2 separate regions of the Homo sapiens genome follow, and region 2 is linked to region 1. The links are contacts of gene promoters, found by promoter capture Hi-C in human tissues and cell types (Jung and others, 2019). All regions are on one chromosome and are shown on one strand. Each heading gives the region's core, a stretch centred on a gene start or on the middle of the fragment in contact. The rest is flanking DNA. Distances are from core to core; before and after follow the strand shown. Region 1 holds the start of RFPL1 (ret finger protein like 1). Region 2 overlaps NIPSNAP1 (nipsnap homolog 1).

Evidence for each region. Contacts are between HindIII fragments. The study calls those that stand out against the background at their distance.
Region 2: a contact is called between a fragment that was not itself captured here and the fragment with the promoter of RFPL1 in region 1, in 3 of the 25 tissues and cell types used here (mesenchymal stem cells, spleen and thymus).

Annotation. Positions count from the first base shown.
Region 1 is chr22:29,436,418-29,440,120 of GRCh38, forward strand. RFPL1 (ret finger protein like 1) reads left to right here and starts at 2,166. Exons shown (of 2, transcript NM_021026.2): 1 at 2,166-2,747. The coding sequence starts at 2,375. RFPL1S (RFPL1 antisense RNA 1) reads right to left here. Exons shown (of 1, transcript NR_002727.2): 1 at 598-3,703. The HindIII fragment of the contact is 25,280 bases long and covers 1-3,703 here.
Region 2 is chr22:29,567,611-29,571,270 of GRCh38, forward strand. It overlaps NIPSNAP1 (nipsnap homolog 1), which reads right to left. Exons shown (of 10, transcript NM_003634.4): 2 at 2,795-2,922; 3 at 2,552-2,597; 4 at 1,583-1,677. Among named protein-coding and RNA genes, the nearest start is that of NIPSNAP1, 12 kb to the right of the region's middle. RefSeq lists an enhancer at 1,570-1,864 and a silencer at 3,330-3,624. The HindIII fragment of the contact is 3,498 bases long and covers 1-3,332 here.

The DNA.
Region 1 (3,703 bases), core at 916-3,415:
CTGTCTCTACTAAAAATACAAAAAAAAAAAAAATTAGCCAGGCATGGTGGCACATGCCTGTAATCCCAGCTGCTCAGGAGGCTGAGGCAGGAGAATTGCTTGAGCCCAGGAGCCGGATGTTGCAGTGATCCAAGTTTGTGCCACTGCACTCCAGCCTGGCTGACAGAGCAAGAATCTGTCTCAAAAAAAAAAAAAAAAGAAAGAAATGTTTAGAGTGTGCTAATTATCCTGACTTGATTATTACACACTTTATGCATGTATCAAAATATTACTGTGTGCCATAAATATGTACAATTATTACATGTCAACTGAAAGTAAAGAGGAAAAAAAAGTAAACCAAAACAAGACCTGAGTGTCTCAGAGTCCTCTAATCCCATGAGGAATCATATTTAAAGCCGACCAAAATTAGGTCTTTATTTTTAATTATGCAAAAAGAGAAAATTCCTTTAATATGTGCCAAAGGGAATAGGGAAAATGATAAGATTATATTCAAATTATTTGAAATTTGAAAACAAAGCAGTAAAGATCCCACTACACAGAAAGGCATGAAAATGAAAAGATTCGGGGTTGATTCAAATGGAAGAAAGCACAACTCACTTCACGGGTAACAATTTTTATTTGAGAACACAAGTTTCACAAGAAAATCATCTTTTTTTTTTAAATTGTGACTTTTATCTTAACACTGTGTGAAGTACTCAAGGTCCAAGAAGCTTAATGGTCATTTGTCAAAATAGTAATTATCCAATTTTTTCCTATGAATTATGAAATTTTTTCAAAACCAGAAATAAACCAATGAAAATAAATAAAAATTCCCTAGAATTTCCTCAATGGAATGCATGCCCCTATTACCTTTGAGTCTGATGTATATGAATTTAAACCATTTTGTAAAATTGCAAATCCAATCATACTTAATACTTCAGGTTTCCAAGCAAAGCTTGAAGCCTACAACATATTACAGGAATTATCTTTACTGACAACTGATGGAAACATCTCTAAAATAAGCTTTTGAAGTTAGTACATTAAGCCTAATTTAATATAAAGGCAATTTAATCTTATCTTCATATGAAAGAAAAATACACTGTCAGGATGAAGGATTTACTAAAGTTACAATTAACTGGAGATATATCACCAGTAAAAACCTAATTCCCTGTTATAATTAAATCAAAGCCTCATTAGGTTAGAGGGTGTGGAAGGGCATGACCCAGTGGGAGGTGGGAATCTCACCAATAAAACGCCCTCATGTGCCCCTTCCGCACAAGACCTGAGCGCCCAGTGGAAGCAGCTGGAGGACAGAGGAGCTTCCAGCAGAAGAGGTGAGCCCATGCCTGTGTGTGTGTTTTTCCTCCTTAGATGCCTAGAAATGGGGGTTATGCCTTGGGGGATGAATGAGAGAAATTCGTAATTAATGAATTCAACAAAGGCTGTCTGAGTGCTGCCTCAGAGTTGAAAACCAGTCACCCTGGATCCCCAGATCTCCAGTCTAGGAGTGGTGGCAGTCAATTTGGTATTCATTTCCAAGGCTGGAGAAGGATGTGATTTTTTTTTTTTTTTTTTTGGTGAGACAGGGTCTTAACTCTGTTGTCCAGGTTGGAGTGACCTGGTGTGATCTCTGCTCACTGCTAATTTTTCTATTATTTGTAGAGAGGGGGTCTTCCTGTGTTGCCCAGGCTGATCTCAAACTCCTTGGCTCAAGGGATCTTCCAGCCTTGGCCTCGCAAAGTGCTGGGATTACAGATGTGAGCTACTGCATCCAGTCCCTCTCTTTTTTTTTTTTTTTTTTTTTGAGATGGTGTCTCACTCTGTTGTCCAGGCCGGAGTGCAATGGCTGGATCTTGGCTCACTGCAACCTTTGCCTCCCAGGTTCAAGCAATTCTCCTGCCTCAGCCTCCCAAGTATCTGGGATTACAGGCGTGTGCCACCACGCCTGGCTAATTCTTTTGTATTTTCAGTAGAGATGGGGTTTCACCCATCAGGCTGGTCTCGAACTTTTGACGACCTCAGATGATCCACTCACGTCAGCCTCCCAAAGTGCTGGGATTATAGGCCTGAGCCACCACGCCCGGCCTCCCAGCCCCTAATTCTTATGTTCATCAATCAATCTCTTGCTGGGGTTCCCCTAGGAGGAGGTGAAATGACCCCAGCTCGCTGTTCCTCACATGGGTGCTGCCGTGTCACTGGCTCAGGCTCAGTTGCTGGGTCACCAGTAGAATGGACCCTTCCTCCACCTCAGTTCAGAGCACAGTGATGATTCGTGACTTTCTTTCCCAATAGAACTTCAAATCTCTGAAGACGGGGGGTGGGGGGATGTGCTTGAGTGTTTGTACTCATGGTCTTGTTCTAGAAGTGACAAAGCTGGGACACAATACCTTTATGCATGAAAAGGTTGTCACTTGTCACAACTAACAGGCTTTCACCTCACGGAAATTTTCTTCCCTTGTGCACTTTTCCCCTGGCAGTGGACATGGCTGCACTCTTCCAAGAAGCAAGCAGCTGTCCCGTCTGCTCAGACTATCTAGAGAAACCAATGTCCCTGGAGTGTGGATGCGCTGTCTGCTTCAAGTGCATCAATTCACTGCAGAAGGAGCCCCATGGGGAGGATCTACTTTGCTGTTGCTGTTCCATGGTCTCTCAGAAGAACAAAATCAGGCCCAGTTGGCAGCTAGAGAGGCTGGCTTCCCACATCAAGGAACTGGAGCCCAAGCTGAAGAAGATTCTGCAGATGAACCCAAGGATGCGGAAGTTCCAAGGTGAGGGATCTGTATACACTGCCCCCTTCCTACGACCAGACCAGGAAAAATCATCTGTGCAACTGGCCCCTCATTCCATATGGGGATTAGCTGCTGTCTGGCACCTAAAATTGAGATGCTTCTTCATCATCAGATTCTCAGCCCTGACAACATACAGAATCACCTGGTGATCTCCAAAAAAAAGGCTGGCTGGGCATGGTGGCTCATGCCTGTAATGTCAGCACTTTGGGAGGCCGAGGCGGGTGGATCACGAGGTCAGGAGATCGGGACCATCCTGGATAACACGGTGAAACCCTGTCTCTACTAAAAATACAAAAAATTAGCCAGGCTTGGTGGTGGGTGCCTGTAGTCCCAGCTACTTGGGGGTTGAGGCAGGAGAATGGCGTTAACCTGGGGGGGGCGGAGCTTGCAGTGAGCCAAGATTGCACCACTGCACTCCAGCCTGGGTGACAGAGTGAGACTCCGTCTCAAAAAAAAAAACCTGATGTCTATGTCATGGGTTAGACAAGGGATTCTCTAAACTTAGTGTGCTCAGATTACCTGGGGATCTTGTTAAAATGCAGATGCTGAACTGGGAAGTCTCAGGATTGATCCCGCTGGCTTGGGGACTTTGCTGAGTAGCAAAAACACAGAGCAACTTAATTTGAATTTCTCTCTAGCAAAGGTTCCCAGGACTCTGACATTTAAATGGGCCTGGTAATTCTAATGCACAGTGAGTATTGGCACCCACTGTACCAAACAACCTCACCCCAGGGTTGGGAAGAGTTTGGAATGGAGCACCTATGGTGTTTGTTTCTGTGAGTGGGGCGAGTTGCAGACGCTGGTCTCCTCATCGGTGTGCCATGGACTTCAACAGGGGTCCTGGCTACAGAAAATACTATCACTCTCCATAACTCTGGGGAATAGGGACATTTAAATGAAGAGGTTATGGTCAGCCTGGGCAAAGAATTACACCT
Region 2 (3,660 bases), core at 334-2,833, 130 kb after region 1:
GGGAGGCCAAAGTGGAAGGATCGCTTGAGCCCGGGAGTTTGAGACCACCCTGGGTAACATAGGGAGATCCCGTCTCTACAAAAAATTTAAAATAAATTAGTTGGGCATTGTGGCATGCACCTGTGGTCCCAGCTACTCAGGAGGCTGAGGTAGGAGGATTGCTTAAGCTCAGGAGGTTAAGGCTGTGTGAGCTGTGATCACACCACTGCACTCCCCACTGGGTAACAAGACCTGGTTTCAAAAATAAATAAATAAATGAAAATTTAAAAATGAATAAAACTGAAAGGCCAGGCACGGTGGCTCATGTCTACAATCCTAGCACTTTGGGAGGCCGAGGAGGTAGGATCATTTGAGTTCAGGAATTCAAGACCAGCCTGGGCAACATGGAGAAACCCCGTCTCTACCAAAAAACACAAAAATTAGCCGAGCATGGTGGAGCGCACCTATAGTCCCAGCTACTCAGGAAGCTGAGGTGGGAGTACTGCTTGAGCCTGGGAAATTGAGGCTCGAGTGAGCCAAGATTATGCCACTGCACTCCAGCCTGTGTGACAGAGCAAGACCCTGTCTCAAAAAAAAAAAAAAAAAAAAAAAAGGCCGGGAGTGGTGGCTCACTCCTGTAATCCCAGCACTTTGGGAGGCCGAGGCAGGTGGATCACCTGAGGTCAGAAGTTCGAGACCAGCCTGACCAACATGTGAAACCCCATCTCTACTAAAGATACAAAATTAGCCAGGCCTGGTGGCACAGGCCAGTAATCCCAGCTACTCGGGAAGCTGAGGCAGGAGAATATCTTCAACTCAGGAGGTGGAGGTTGCAGTCAGCCAAGACTGTGCCACTATCTGCCAGCCTGGGTGACAGAGCGAGACCCTGTCTCAAAAAAGAAAAAAGAAAAAAAAAAAAAAGGCCGGGTGCGGTGGCTCACACCTGTAATCCCAGCACTTTGGGAGGCTGAGGCAGGTGGATCACCTGAGATCAGGAGTTCAAGACCAGCCTGACCAACATGGTGAAATCCCGTCTCTACTAAAAATACAAAATTAGCTGGGCGTGGTGGCACATGCCTGTAATCCCAGCTACTCAGGAGGCTGAGACAAGAGAATTGCTTAAACTGGGGAGGCGGAGGTTGCAGTGAGCCGAGATTGCACTACTGCACTCCAGCCTGGGGCAACAAGAGTGAAACTCAGTCTCGGAAAAAAAAAGAATAAAAGACAGTGATCCAGGTAAAGCAGGCAAACAAGAAATAATGCTTAAGGCAGAAGAAAGAGAATGAGCAGTAGTCTGGAACTAAAGAGTGAAACTGTCAATCTGAGGAACTGAGTCCTGGGTGGGACAGCACAGCGAGGCATGGAGGATTTGGTGCCATGAGGCTGGGGGCAGGGCCGGGAAGGAGTCACAGGCTTCACGGGTCACCTTGAGGGCACAGGGGAGCCAGGACAGGTATTTGAGCAGGGGAGTGAGGTGATGAGGTTTTAGTAAGAGCCCCACCAGGTGCTGTTGTGGAGAGGGAGTGGAGAACAGCCAGGTGTGAAAGGTGCTGGAGGCCAGGGCTGGGCAGTGGCAATGGCACTAGGGAGGTGAGCGCCTTACCTGCCTGGTCCTGCTCCCCATACCACGTGTTCCAGTTGCCCACGAGTGAGCATGGGTAGTCCTCATCCAGGTGAAGCTTGGGCAGCACAGCCTCCCTGTGGGGGAGGTGCAGAGAGGGGCAGGGTTCACATAGCCACCAGGGCCTCTGAGATAAGGGTTCAAACTCAGTTCAAACAGACCCTGGGGCTGGGCCTCAGACTCTCCATCTCTAAAATGCAGAAGCTAGGCAAGAGGCCCTCAGGACTTCCGACACTGAAATTTACATCCTGGCTGGGCACAGTGGCTCACACCTGTAATCCCAACACTGGGAGGCTGAGGCAGGAGGATTGCTTGAGCCCAGTAGTTTGAGACCAGCCTGGGAAGCAAAGTGAGATCCCATCTCTCTTTTTTGTGTGTGAGACAGAGTTTTGCTCTTGTTGCCCAGGCTGGAGTGCAATGGCGCAATCTCGGCTCACTGGAACCTCCGCCTCCTGGAGACCATCTCTTAAAAAAAAAAAAAAGAAAGAAAGAAAATGGGGCCAAACGCAGTGGCACATGCCTGTAATCCCAGCACTCGGAGGCCGAGGCAGGTGGATCACCTGAGGTCAGGAGTTTGCGACCAGCCGGACTAACATGGTGAAACCCTGTCTCTACTAAATACAAAAAAATTAGCCATGCTTAGCGGCGCATGCCTGTAATCCGAGCTACTTGGGAGGCTGGAACAGGAGAATCGCTTGTACCTGGGAGGCAGAGGTTGCAGTGAGCCGAGATCGCGCCATTGCACTCCAGCCTGGGCAACGAGAGCAAAACTCCATCTCAAAAAAAAAGAAAGAGAGAAAGAAAGAAAGAAAGAAAAAGGCAGAAATAAAAGAAATCTACATCTCCTGGATTTCTACAGAAAAGAACAGGGTGGAGGATGTTCCGCAAATTTGCTGAAAGTGTGTTCCCCACCCAAGCAGGGGATGGGATGTATGGATGCAGGGTGCTCACGTGAGGCTGTTGTAGGCATCCAGGTATTCAGGCTTTACATTGTGAACTGCAACAGAGGACAGAGAACAAGAAGTGAGGTAGGGTGTGTACACAGGGAAGAACTTGGGGTGAGGGGAGCCCATCAAGGCCAGGGGTCCCAGGACAGCTGAGGACATTCCAGACCCTCCCATCTCCTTCCTGGAGCCTCACAGGCCCCCAGAGCCCCTGAAAGGGCAGAAATTGGTCAGCTCAGCAGCCACTCACACTGGATCTTATAGAGGTTGCTGGTTTCCTTCTTGGACAGCAGGGTGGAGTGGGCATCCTTCCGGGGATCCACTTTGTGAACAAAGAGGGAGCGGAACCAGCTGCCTTCATTGTCCTTGGAATAGAAACTGCAGGACAGAGGAGTTGAGGGGGACGCGCGGAGGTTGGGGGAGCCCCAGCAATTCCATCCACTTGGATGTCCTGCTCCCCTAGACCAGTGACCCACATTTCTGGGAACAGGGCCACGGAGTCCTGTGGCAGCTCCAGACTGTGAAATGCTATTGGAGCCAGCTCCTTTCTACAGATATTCCAGCTGCCCAGTTGGCTTCTTGAAGCTTTGCAGAGCCTCAGGACGCCAGGAGAGGCAGCCCCACCTCCCACTTCTCTCTCTAGCCTCCCTGCCTCCACTTCATCCCCCTTCCAAGAGGTCCTCTACTTGGGTCATATAACTCCAGCCTCTCGCCAAGAGGATCAACCCCAAATCCACCTTGCATCATGCCCAAAGCCCTTGACAACCCAACCTAACTTGTCAGCCTCCCCTCCTGCCCCCTCACCTGTACACCTCACTCTCCAGGTGTGCTCTTCCCTGAACACACCAGGATCTGCTACTCTGTGCTTTCTGTACAAGTTCTGTCCCCTCTAACGAGAAGACTGCTCTCACCGTCCTCCCCAGCACTCTCACAGTGCACTTGGCCCATGTCCCCACCCTGACCCCACACATGGAAAGCCAAATACAAATAAGCTTTGTCCTTGAGGAGCTCATAGTCCACTAGGAGAAATGGGCCTTGGGACACAATTATAGGAGGGGTCTCTGGAAGAGCCCAGGTGAACTAGCCTTAACTCTGCTTCTGGCAACCTGGGCAGAC